4 separate regions of the Homo sapiens genome follow, and all the other regions are linked to region 1. The links are contacts of gene promoters, found by promoter capture Hi-C in human tissues and cell types (Jung and others, 2019). All regions are on one chromosome and are shown on one strand. The core of a region is centred on a gene start or on the middle of the fragment in contact, and the rest is flanking DNA. Distances in the headings are between cores, read along the strand shown.

Evidence for each region. Contacts are between HindIII fragments. The study calls those that stand out against the background at their distance.
Region 2: a fragment that was not itself captured here is called in contact with the fragment with the promoter of ACTL10 in region 1 in 2 of the 25 tissues and cell types used here (H1 embryonic stem cells and lymphoblastoid cells).
Region 3: a contact is called between a fragment that was not itself captured here and the fragment with the promoter of ACTL10 in region 1, in 3 of the 25 tissues and cell types used here (dorsolateral prefrontal cortex, hippocampus and lymphoblastoid cells).
Region 4: a fragment that was not itself captured here is called in contact with the fragment with the promoter of ACTL10 in region 1 in 2 of the 25 tissues and cell types used here (mesendoderm cells and neural progenitor cells).

Annotation. Positions count from the first base shown.
Region 1 is chr20:33,665,392-33,668,317 of GRCh38, forward strand. ACTL10 (actin like 10) reads left to right here and starts at 1,552. Exons shown (of 1, transcript NM_001024675.2): 1 at 1,552-2,926. The coding sequence starts at 2,107. The coding sequence ends at 2,844. All of the region lies in intron 5 of NECAB3 (N-terminal EF-hand calcium binding protein 3), which reads right to left. RefSeq lists enhancers at 1,245-1,464, 2,275-2,354 and a silencer at 1,595-1,924. The HindIII fragment of the contact is 10,203 bases long and covers 9-2,926 here.
Region 2 is chr20:33,783,033-33,785,958 of GRCh38, forward strand. It overlaps ZNF341 (zinc finger protein 341), which reads left to right. Exons shown (of 15, transcript NM_001282933.2): 12 at 700-832. Among named protein-coding and RNA genes, the nearest start is that of ZNF341-AS1, 27 kb to the right of the region's middle. RefSeq lists a silencer at 2,645-2,694. The HindIII fragment of the contact is 4,090 bases long and covers 1-2,926 here.
Region 3 is chr20:33,570,067-33,572,992 of GRCh38, forward strand. All of the region lies in intron 1 of CBFA2T2 (CBFA2/RUNX1 partner transcriptional co-repressor 2), which reads left to right. Among named protein-coding and RNA genes, the nearest start is that of CBFA2T2, 81 kb to the left of the region's middle. The HindIII fragment of the contact is 4,062 bases long and covers 1-2,926 here.
Region 4 is chr20:33,598,680-33,601,605 of GRCh38, forward strand. All of the region lies in intron 1 of CBFA2T2 (CBFA2/RUNX1 partner transcriptional co-repressor 2), which reads left to right. Among named protein-coding and RNA genes, the nearest start is that of C20orf144, 62 kb to the right of the region's middle. The HindIII fragment of the contact is 9,711 bases long and covers 1-2,926 here.

The DNA.
Region 1 (2,926 bases), core at 302-2,801:
ACCCAGGAGGCAGAGGTTGCAGTGAGCTGAGATCACACCACTGCACTCCAGCCTGGGCAAGAGAGCGAGACTCCATCTCAAAAAACAAACAACACAATGCAGTGCACATCCTGGGTTCCCCACAGCCCCGCAGTCAGATTCTGTTCCTGAAACCTGATTTCACCCTTGCTCTTGATATCCATAACATGTAAGATCCTTTCAATAAAGTCCTTATTTTGGGTTACATTCACCTGAGTCTTCTACCTGCAACCAAACTGGTCCTCAGGAGGATGAGGCTTTGCAGAGACAAGAAGTGACCTCTTTCCTGTGTGGGGGGATTATTACTACCTTTTGGAGGAGAAAACCGAACCCAGAGAAAGATCAAGACTTGCTTAGGACTGCACAGTGAGTCAGCTTCAGAACTGAGTCTTGCTGGGTGCGGTGGCTCACACCTGTAATCCTAGCACTTTGGGAGTCCAAGGCAGGTGGATCACCTGAGGTCAGGAGTTCGAGACCAGCCTGGCCAACGTGGCGAAACCCTGTCTCCACTAAAAATACAAAAATTAGCCGCGTATGGTGGTGCATGCCTGTAGTCCCAGCTACTCAGGAGGCTGAGGCAGGAGAATCACTTGAACTCGGAAGGCAGAGGTTGCACTGAGCTGAGATTGCAACGCTGCACGCCCAGCCTGGGTGACCGAGACTCCGTCTCAAAAATAATAATAATAAAAAAAAGAACTGAGTCTCAAACTGAGGCCCACGTGAATCCATCCGTGGAAGCCCATAAAGGTAGGGCCAGAGCCTCTCGGGGGCTCTTCAGGGAAGCTGCAGATCTGTGATGAAAAAGCTTTTTCTTCAGCACTGGGAGGGGTAGGGGGCCACACATCTGGACAGAGTACATCAGATAATTCTAAGTGGTTTGGGAAAGGAATCAGACTGTGCTGGGCTGCTGAAGCCAGACCCCTGGATGCCAAAATCACTGCCCTTGGCTCTGTCCAGAAGAGAGGATGGGTCCAGGGAGTTGTCATAAGGTAGGGAGCTGCGAAGTGCAGCTGCTGGGGAGTGAGGTCACAATGAGCCCAATCCAAGTTCTTTTCTGCCTTCTGACCAGCCCCTCCCCTCTCCACAACCAGGAACTTCCGTCAAGCCCAGGTGAGAGGTGCCAGGAGGCTGCCTGGGTCCTCAAGGGGGATATATGTCCAAATGGCCTTACCACAAGGCCCCTTCGCCCTCAAAGTTCTGCTCCTCCCGGGGGCTTCTTAGGATCTAAAAGGATCAGTCCTAGCCATCTCGTCAGCCATCTCAGCAAGGGCTGACGGGGCGGAACAGCAAAGCAGAGGCGGGTCCTGAGAGCGTGGAGCCTGAAGCCCGGCGCCAGAGGGAGACCAAGAGGGTGAGATGCGGCTGGAACCCAGCCAGAGCGGAGACTGAAGCCTGAACTAGGGGCCGGGCCTCAGGCCTAGGAACTAGCCACGAGCTGAAAAGGAGGCGGATGGCCCGGACAGAAGAGGCGGGGCTTTCAGACCAGAGGGCGGAGCCAAGAGCTGAAAAGGGTGGTGATTTGGTCCAGAAGAGGAAGAACTTAGGCTCCGGAGGCAGAGCCAAAGGCTGAAGGGGACTACTCCCTAGGACAGAGGCCGGGAGGTATCGGGCCGACGAAGCCGAGTGGCGCGGAGGAGCGGAGCCTTCAGCCCCGCGGCTGGGCCGAGCCCGAAGGTGGCGTCGGTGTCGGGGAGCCGCCGCGTGCACCGGCCGTCCTCCCTGGGCCGCATCGCGGTGGTGGTGGACCAGGGCTCGGGCTTCACCAAGGCGGGCTTCGCGGGCGAGAACCAGCCGCGCATAGTGCTGAAGAGCTCTAGCTTGGTGCCCAGCTGGGACCGGCCGGTGCTGCCCGGAGCGCCGGGCTGCGAGCTGGCGGGCGGCGTGGCGCGGGCGCACCCCATCAAGCACGGCGTGGTGGCGGACTGGGAGGCGCTGGAAGGGCTGTGGGAGCGCCTGCTGGTGGGCGGCCTGCGGGTGTGCCCAGAGCAGTGGCCCGTGCTGGTGAGCGACTCGCCGTTGGCGCCGCCCGCGGGCCGCGAAAGGGTGGCGGAGCTGCTGTTCGAGACCCTGGCAGTGCCCGCGTGCCACATGGCTAGCACCGCGTTGCTGGCGCTCTGCTCCACCGGCGCGTTCAGCGGGCTGGCCGTGGAGGCGGGCGCGGGCGTGTGCCACGCCACGCCCATCTACGCGGGTCACTCGTGGCACCAGGCCACCTTCCGACTGAACGTGGCAGGCAGCACCCTGTCGCGCTACCTGCGGGATCTGCTGGTGGCGGCGAACCCTGACCTCTTGCAGCAGGCCCTGCCCCGCAAGGCCATCACACATCTCAAGAAGCGCAGCTGCTACGTGTCCCTGGACTTCGAGGGCGACCTCCGCGACCCCGCCCGCCACCATCCGGCCAGTTTCAGCGTGGGTAACGGGTGCTGCGTCTGCCTCAGCAGTGAGCGCTTCCGCTGCCCCGAACCCATCTTCCAGCCGGGCCTGCTGGGCCAGGCTGAGCAGGGGCTGCCCGCGCTGGCCTTCCGGGCGCTGCAGAAGATGCCCAAAACGCTGCGGACACGCCTGGCAGACACCGTGGTGCTAGCCGGCGGCTCCACACTGTTTCCTGGCTTCGCCGAGCGCCTGGACAAGGAGCTGGAGGCGCAGTGCCGGCGGCACGGCTACGCGGCCCTGCGGCCCCACCTGGTGGCCAAGCATGGGCGTGGCATGGCTGTGTGGACCGGCGGCTCCATGGTGGCCTCCCTGCACTCCTTCCAGCGCCGCTGGATAACTCGGGCCATGTACCAGGAGTGTGGCTCCAGGCTGCTGTACGATGTGTTCAACTGAGTCAGGCTGGACTGGGGGGGGTGGCACTGCGTTGGGGGACAGCTCTCTATCTAAAGAGTCAAGTGTTTGGAGCTGGCAGGGT
Region 2 (2,926 bases), core at 137-2,636, 120 kb after region 1:
AATCCCAGCTACTCAGGAGGCTGAGGCAGGAGAATCGCTTGAACCTGGGAGGCAGAGGTTGCAGTGAGCCAAGATTGCACCATTGCACTCCAGCCTGGACAATATGAGCGAAACTGCATCTCAAATAAAATAAAATAAAATAAATAAAAGTAAAAAATTACCTTTCCATAGATTTCTTTAGTAATTTGCTCATTTTCCATTAATTCTTTTACTTGTCAGTCATTTGACCCAGGCTCTGTGCTGGGGAGTGAAAGCCCCTCTCTGCCTACTTGGAGCTCCTGTGTAAGCAAAGGGCTGTCATTCAGTGGGTTAAATGCTGACTTAAAAGTGTGGGTGGACATTCAAAGGCAGAATTGGCTTTGCCAGGCATAGCACCAGGGAGCTAGGGAAGGCTTGACAGGAGCAGTGACGCCCGAGTTGGGTCTTGAAGGATGTGTAAGAGTTTGTCAGTAAAGAGAGAAAGGCCCTCTGGGTGGGAAGAACATCCGGGCAAAAGCTCAGGGCAGACATGTTTTGTCCGGGCTTGTGGGGAGCCATGAAGTTCTAAGGGCTGAGTCTGACATTCTGGGTCCTGGCCCCTGATAGCCAGAAAGGAAGGTGTCTCTATAGGGGCTGGAAACGAGGAACCTTTGAGTTCAGAAGATGGCCAGGGGAGGGGGGCCCGGTGAGTCAGACCTGAAGGCCCCTCTTCTCTCCCAGGTGTTTCCTTGTGAACGCTACCTGCGGCGTCATCTGCCCACCCACGGCAGCGGGGGCAGGTTCAAGTGCCAAGTGTGCAAGAAGTTCTTCCGGCGGGAGCATTATCTCAAACTGCATGCTCACATCCACTCGGGTAGGTACCCTGCCCCTGAGAACTCCAGCCCAGCCCCTCCCCTCCCCCTCCCCCTCTCCTCATGCCTTTCTCTCTCTTCCCATCCCCATCTGGCTCTTCTCCCTGTCTCCCTCAGCCCCTTTTCCCTCCACTTCTCCATCTCCCTCCCCATCTCACTCAGTCCCTCCCCTCATCTCTCTCAGCCCCCGTCTCCCTCCTCCTCCCCATCTCCCTCCTCCTCCCCATCTCCTTCCTCCTCCCCATCTCCCTCCAGCACCCTTCTCCCTCCTCTTCCCCATTTCCTTTCCCCTCTCCCTCTCCCTACTCCTCTCCCTCCCCCCTCCCTCCGCCTCCTCACCTCCCTCCCTCTCCCCATCTCCTTCCCCCTCCCCCATCTCCCTCCCTCTCTCCATCTCTCTCCCCCCCATCTCCCTCACCCTCCCCATCTCCCTCTTCTTCCCCATCTCCCTGCAGCCCCCTTCTCCCTCCTCCTTCCCATCTCCCTCTAGCCTCCCTTCCCCTCCCTCTCCCCATCTCCTTCTAGCCCCCTCCAGCCTCCCTCCCCTGTCCTCTCCCCTCTCCCTCCAGCCCCCTCCCCCTCCTCTCTGTCGCTGTCTGTCTCCCTCCAGCCCTCCTGCCTCTCCCCTTGCTCCTCCTTCCTCTCTCCTTCCTGGCCCCTGATCCACCTGCCTTAATTCATGAACAAGGGATTCCCACCACCGCTAAAGCAGAGAAGAGCCCCTGGAGGTTGTGTGGAAGGGACTTTTTATTCTTTTTTTTTTTTTCTTTGAGACAAAGTCTCGCTCTTGTTGCCCAGGCTGGAGTGCGGTGGCAGATCTTGGCTCACTGCAACCTCTGCCTCCCGGGTTCAAGTGATTCTCCTGCCTCAGCCTCCTGAGTAGCTGGGATTACAGGCTCCCACCACCATGTCCAGCTAGTTTTTTGTATTTTTAGTAGAAACAGGGTTTTGCCATGTTGGCCAGGCTGGTTTCGAACTCCTGACCTCAGGTGATCCTCCTGCCTCGGCCTCCCAAAGTGCTGGGATGACAGGCGTGAGGCACTGCACCCAGCCTGTGTGAGGGACTCTTGACTCTGCCCCCTGTGGTGGGGACACTGCTCTCACTGTAAGTTCCCACTCAAACCTGAACAAAACGCCATCTCCTTGGTTCCCCAGTTGAAACACACTGACATTTTCTTTTCTATTAATCTTTAGATTTTTTTATTAGTTAAATTTTTTAATTGCTTTTTAATTGAAAAGGATCTAAAGATTGAGAAAACTTGAGGGAAAATCCTTGACGGGACAAAAGCATATATAAAAAAATAAACTCCCTCTCACTTCAGATGGACAATCCAATGTTTTTCCTTTTTTTTCTTTCCTACGACCTATGGTAAAAAATACATTTCATATTGCAACCCAGGAAGCACACATAGGATGTATTGCAACAAAAGTTTTACAAAACAGTGTTTTCTATTTTGTCCTTTTCAATTTTAGTTTTTTTATTTTTTATTTTTATTTTGAGACAGGGTCTCACTCTGTCACCCAGGCTGGAGTGCAATGGTATGATCTCACTACAACCTCCGCCTCCCAGGTTCAAGCCATTCTCGTGCCTCAGCCTCCCGAGTAGCTGGGATTACAGGCGCCCACCACATGCCTGGCTAATTTCTGTATTTTCAGTAGAGACGGGGTTTCACCATGTTGGCCAAGATGGTCTCAAACTCCTGGCCTCAGGTTACCCACCCACCTTGGCCTCTCAAAGTGCTGGGATTACAGATGCAAGCCACCACACCCAGCCTATTTTTAATTCTTAAAATAACCACCAACAGGGTGTAACTTGTGGTTTGCAGTTTGCAAAATACTCCTAATTCTCTTCCCCAAAGGTAACTGTTAGCGGTCTAGTCTGCATTCTTCTAGTTTTATTTTACACATATATAAAACGCTTGCTTACGTTTGCAAAAATGAGCACATACTATAACTTATGTGCCTTTTTTTCCTTATCATATACCTTGGCGATGTTCCCCAAGGAATGTGTGCTTACAGTTCCCCTGGAGGCTAAATTCTGTGGGTCCCCCTCCCCCGGGCCCCCCCCAGAAGTTGTTACCAACAGCACCTTCTTT
Region 3 (2,926 bases), core at 143-2,642, 95 kb before region 1:
TCAGGAGTTGGAGACTAGCCTATCCAAAATGGTGAAGCCCCATCTTTACTAAAAATACAAAGAAACTAGCCAGGTGTGGTGGCACATGCCTGTAATCCCAGCTACTGGGGAGGCTGAGGCAGGAGAATCACTTGAACCCAGGAGGCAGAGTTTGCAGGGAGCCGAGATCATGCCACTGCACTCCAGCCTGGGTGACAAGAGCGAGACTCCATCTCAAAAACAAACAAACAAAAAAAGATACTAGAATTTGAAAAGCCCCTGGCAGCCAACATTTTACGTGACAGCTCCTATGAAGGCAAGCCTCTAGGTAGAGCAATGTGATTATATTTAGAATAGGTTAGGAGTTGTAGTATTTGAAGAGTTTTTTTCAGAGCTTTTTAATCTGCTCCTTCGTTTTAAGCAGTGGAGAAATTGAAAGGTAGGGAAGTCAGTAAAGGGGAAGAGTTGAGATTTGAAACAGAGCCTTCTCTGACTCCAAATTAAGTGTACTTTGATTTGAAGTTTGGAGCTAGTACATGTTGGGAATGTTGATCAGTATTGCTATAGATATTGTCGTCTTGAGGTGAGTACATGTGCTGTTAACCCTTCTTTCTGGTACTTAGGAAGAATGGGGGTTTCCTTCTGTGGCCTTACTGATTCTTTCATTCTGTCATTGTACATACTGAGAAACAAAGTTAAATAGTAAAAGGAGTTTGCAGTCTAATGTGAGACTCATTTTCTTTTCATCTGTTTTAATTTTATTAAGTTGTCCTCTCTCATTCCTAGGGCTAATGCCACAATGAAACTGGAAATAAGTTTTCTTGCACTGTGAATGTGAACTGAGGTTTCCACAAGCAAACTGTGCTTCTGTCTCCCCAAGTAGAGAAGCATGGCAAATAACCACAAGTGCTTTGTCGGGGCCCCAGGCTTCTCACTTACCTTTCCCCAGTCCTGGCTCTGTTCTTCATGTCTAAAGTAAGGGAGGACAACAGACTTGGTGTGTGTGTGACTGACCTTCTAGAAATGTTAACTTCCATCTTTATCTTGGAGAATGAATTGAAGTGTTTCCCTGCCTTTCCATCCAAGGGAACCATCTCTAACAACAAATCTTTTTAAGTGGGTCTGGAGGGGGGACAGAGAATTGGTGATTTGTCTTGGTAATTATGTTGTTTTTTGGAGTCAGTTTCAAACACTTCAGTAAAAATGTTTAAGGCTCTTCAACTTTTTTGGTTTGTTTCATTTTAATGTACTACTTTATTCTATTTTCTCACATTTTGTACGCACAAATCAATAGATACTCTTAATTGAATAAGTGAAAATAGTGGGTGAGTTTAAAGATAGATGTTTCGTTTTCCTTATTTTGATGATTACTTTTAAAATTTTAATGTGTACTTGACATAAAATCTAATGTCAATTCATATATCCATTTTTTTCTTTAAGTACAGAAGTCTTAGAACACTTCAAATTCAGTAACTTTTTCAATATATTACCGCTGTCTAGGATTTTGTTTCCATTTTGTTTGTTACACTCCCAGCCAAAATAATAGTTACCATTATTTTTAAAGCTATTAATTTCGATTTACCAATATATTTATTGAATTATCTGGTCACTTTGCATATTTATCACAATTTTCCTTCTAGGTTAATAATTCATTCCTGCCAAGTGTATCTGTTAATAATTCTTGGAGAATCTGTAAGTAGTACACTCTTTTTGCTGATCTGAAGATATCTTTATTTCACCTTTACTTGAATGATAGTTAAATGTGGTTAGAGTGTAAAGGTTGACAGTTATTTTCCATTAGCACTTGGGAGTGGTGATTTCTTTTCTTGTGTTTTGTTTGTTTGTTTGGTTTGTTTGGTTTTTGAGATGGAGTCTCGCTCTGTCGCCCAGGCTGGAGTGCAGTGGCACAATCCCGGCTCACCATAACCTCCGCCTCCCAGGTTCAAACGATTCTGCTGCCTCAGCCTCCAGAGTAGCTGGGACTACAGGCGCCTGCCACCACGGGCCTGGCTAATTTTTGCATTGTTACTAGAGACGGGGTTTTGCCATGTTGGCCAGGCTGGTCTTGAACTCCTGACTTCAGGTGATCTGCCAACCTTGTTTATATGAGGAAGTCCCTCATAAATTTTAGAATAATATCTGTAAAGATGGTGGTAGGGTATTAATGTTAATAATTTTGGTAATTATACTGGGCTTATAAGTAAACATCCTAACTCTTAGCATTTACACACTGAAATATTTAAGCATAAGGGAGTGTAATGTTTCCAGCTTGCTCTCAAGTGGTTTAGATAAAAATATAGGTAGATAGAGAAAAAGAAAGTGATTTTTATAAATGGATGAATTAATTGGTGAATTTAGCTAAATGATATTAACAGAATTATTTGAATAGTCTTGCAAATAAAAATGTTTCTAAATTTGAATAAAAGAAAGTACTGAGCCCATTAACAAAAAAATATGTATATGAAATTAAGTGTTAATTTAGGACTCTCTGAAGAAGTAAATTGAGCTGTGTGCTGAATAACAATAATGAAATAGTCGGTGGATGTCAGTGATAAGAATATTCCAGTGCAAAGGCTCAATGATGGGAATGAACTCAGTATGTTCAAAGAATAGAAAAATGGCCGATGTAGATATAATGTAGTGGACGAAGAGAAGAGGGTAGAGAGACAGGAGACAGAAGTTCATGTAGAGCTTTTAAAGCCAGCATAAAGCTTTGTAATCCAATGAATTTGGATTTCATTCTGAGTGATGGGTAACCATTGAATAGTTGGGGCAGTAATGTGATCTGATTTATATTGTATAAAGATCATTCTTCCTGTCATATAGAGAAAGAATTTTATAGGGCATGGCTGGAAGCAGCAAGACCAGAAGTGAAAAGTGACAAGTTTGGCCCAGCTTTATGGCAGTGAATATAGTAGAGGACAGATGATTTGTTATATTTTAGAGG
Region 4 (2,926 bases), core at 202-2,701, 67 kb before region 1:
AAGACAGGCATAGGAAATCACAAGAGTATTGATTGGGGAAGTGATAAGTGTCCATAAAATCTTTACAATTTATGTTTAGAGATTGCAGTAAAGACAGGCATAAGAAATAAAAGTATTAATTTGGGGAACTAATAAATGTCCATGAAATCTTCACAATCCACCTTCTTCTGCCATGGCTTCAGCCGGTCCCTCCGTTTGGGGTCCCTGACTTCCCGCAGCAGTCTCACTTCATTGCCCAGGCTGGTTTTCCAGCTTTTTAATCAGTTATAGCAGAAGTCAGTAAACTGTGGCCCACTGTCGGCCAGGCATGGTGGCTTACGCCTGTAATCCCAGCACTTTGGGAGGCCGAGGCAGGTGGATTGCCTGAGCTCAGGAGTTCGAGACCAGCCTGGGCAGCAGGGTGAAACTCCATCTCTACTAAAATACAAAAAAATTAGCTGGGCTCAGTGGCATGTGCCTGTAGTCCCAGCTACTTGGGAAGCTGAGGCAGGAGAATTGCTTGAACCCAGGAGGCGGAGGTTGCAGTGAACAGAGATGGCGCCACTGCAATACAGCCTGGGCGACAGTGAGACTCTGTCTCAAGAGAAAAAAAAAACCTGTGGCCCACTGTCCATTTTTGTGAATAAAGATTGATTACAACACAGCCAAGCCCATTTATTTGTATATTGTCTATAGTGTGCTACAATAGAGCAAAAAAATATTTACTGTCTTGCCTTTGGCAGGAAAAGTTTCCTGATTCCTGAGCTATAATAATGATAAATTAATTTTCCAGTATATGTATAAACATGGAATGTAAAAAATTTATTTTTTCTATCAGTGTTGGTACATGTTAAAGTATTGATTTTGTTTTAATTGTGCTCCATCTTCTATCTTCAAAGGTCCTTGTAAAATACTTTCTGGTAATTTCCCTTTTTTTTTTTTTTGAGACGGAGCCTTACTCTGTTGCCCAGGCTGTAGTGCAATGAATGGCATGATCTTGGCTCACCGCAACCTCCACCTCCCAGGTTCAAGTGATTCTTCTGCCAGCCATAGCCTCCTGAGTAGCTGGGTTTACAGGTGCCCACCACCATGCCTGGCTAATTTTTTGTATTTTTAGTAGAAACGGGGTTTCACCATGTTGGCCAGGCTGGTCTTGAACTCCTGACCTCAGGTGATCCACCCACCTCAACCTCCCAAAGTGCTGGGATTACAGGCGTGAGCCACTGTGCCCAGCCTCTGGTAATTTCTTTGAGTCCTTATGTCTCCATTTTTGTTGAATGATAAATTGTTTGTCATTATAAACAGTTGTTTCTGGCCATCTCGGCATATGAAGCCTGCGTGTTATTAGGAAGTTGGATGTGTTGTCAGATTTGTGGCAGAGTTACAAAGATGGTAAATGCTCATCCTTAAGCATGTACTATGTCCATAATCAGTTTAGCCAACTTTATAAGGCTATAAATGTAACAGTAATTTTGATGTTTCTTCCTCCATCTTTAGCAAGTTAGAATTATCACTTTTGGAAAGTTTTTTTTTTTTTTTTTTTTTTTTTTTTTGTGATGGAGTCTTGCTGTTTTCCAGGCTGGAGTGCAGTGGCACCATCTCAACTAACTGCAACCTCCACCTCCTGGGTTCAAGCAGTTCTTCTGCCTCAGCCTCCTGAGCAGCTGGGATTACAGACGCCTGCCACCATGCCCAGCTAATTTTTGTTTAGTAGAGATGGGGTTTCACCATGTTGGCCAGGCTCGTCTTGAACTCCTGACCTCAGGTGATCTGCCTGCATTGGCCTCCCAACGTGCTGGGATTACAGGTATGAGCCACTGCACCCGGCCTGGAAATTCTTACCATATGACAATTACACATTCAGAACATTTACCTATGCTTGGCAGTGATTGAAGAGAGGCTATGGTCCAGGAAATCTTTTCCCTGATTTTTCCTTCAGCTGTGATACCACCTCTTGGGGGCACTATTCAAACTATATCCCATGTGCTACCTGGAGAGCCCATGTAGCCTTTCCAGCAAACACCTTAACATTGTGTTAAGACTTGCCTGGCCGTCGTACATGGTAATGTTTCTATTTCTTTATTTTCCCAGTACTGTATGTCTGTCTTTCCCATAAGTGAGGTCCCTCCCTACCTTCATCTCTGAACTTCCCTAAGGCCTGGCAAATCCAGGACAGTCAAGTAGATTGGGATCTGGATCCTCAAAATCCAGGACCAAATTATTGGAAATAATCCAATTGTTCATTGACAAGGGATTGTTTAAATGAACTATGGTACCTCCTCAAAGTGTATTATCATATTGTTTTTTAAAATTGTGGAATTAAGAATTCCAGGACATATTGTGATATTATAAAACACAATAATAGAACCAAAAAAAAAAAGGAACATTATAATTTGTATGTGGTGTAGATTAGTTGTCTATTCCTGCATAACAAACCATGTCAGAACTTCATGGCCTAAAATGATAAGCCTCCCCGCTCCCTTCTGTTAGTCTAATCCGCCCACCTCAGTCTCCCAAAGTCTTGGGATTACAGGCAGGAGCCACCCACGCCCAGCCTGAGAGTCTGATTTTTGTTTTTTTTGTGGGTTTTTTATTGTTGTTGTTGTTTTTTGTTTGTTTGTTTTTAGACAGAGTCTCGCTCTGTCGCCCAGACTGGAGTGCAGTGGTGCGGTCTTGGCTTATTGCAGCCTCTGCCTCTCGTGTTCAAGCGGTTCTCCTGCCTCAGCCTCCTGAGTAGCTGGGATTACAGGTGTGTGCCACCACGCCCAACTCATTTTTGTATTTTTAGTAGAGACAGGGTTTCACCCTGTTGGCCAGGCTGATCTTGAACTCCTGGCCTCAGGTGATCCGCCCGCCTCAGCTTCCCAAAGCGCTGGGATTACAGGCATGAGCCACCGTGCTCAGCCTGGAGTCTGATTTTTTTATAAAGCAATGGATTTAATGGCTT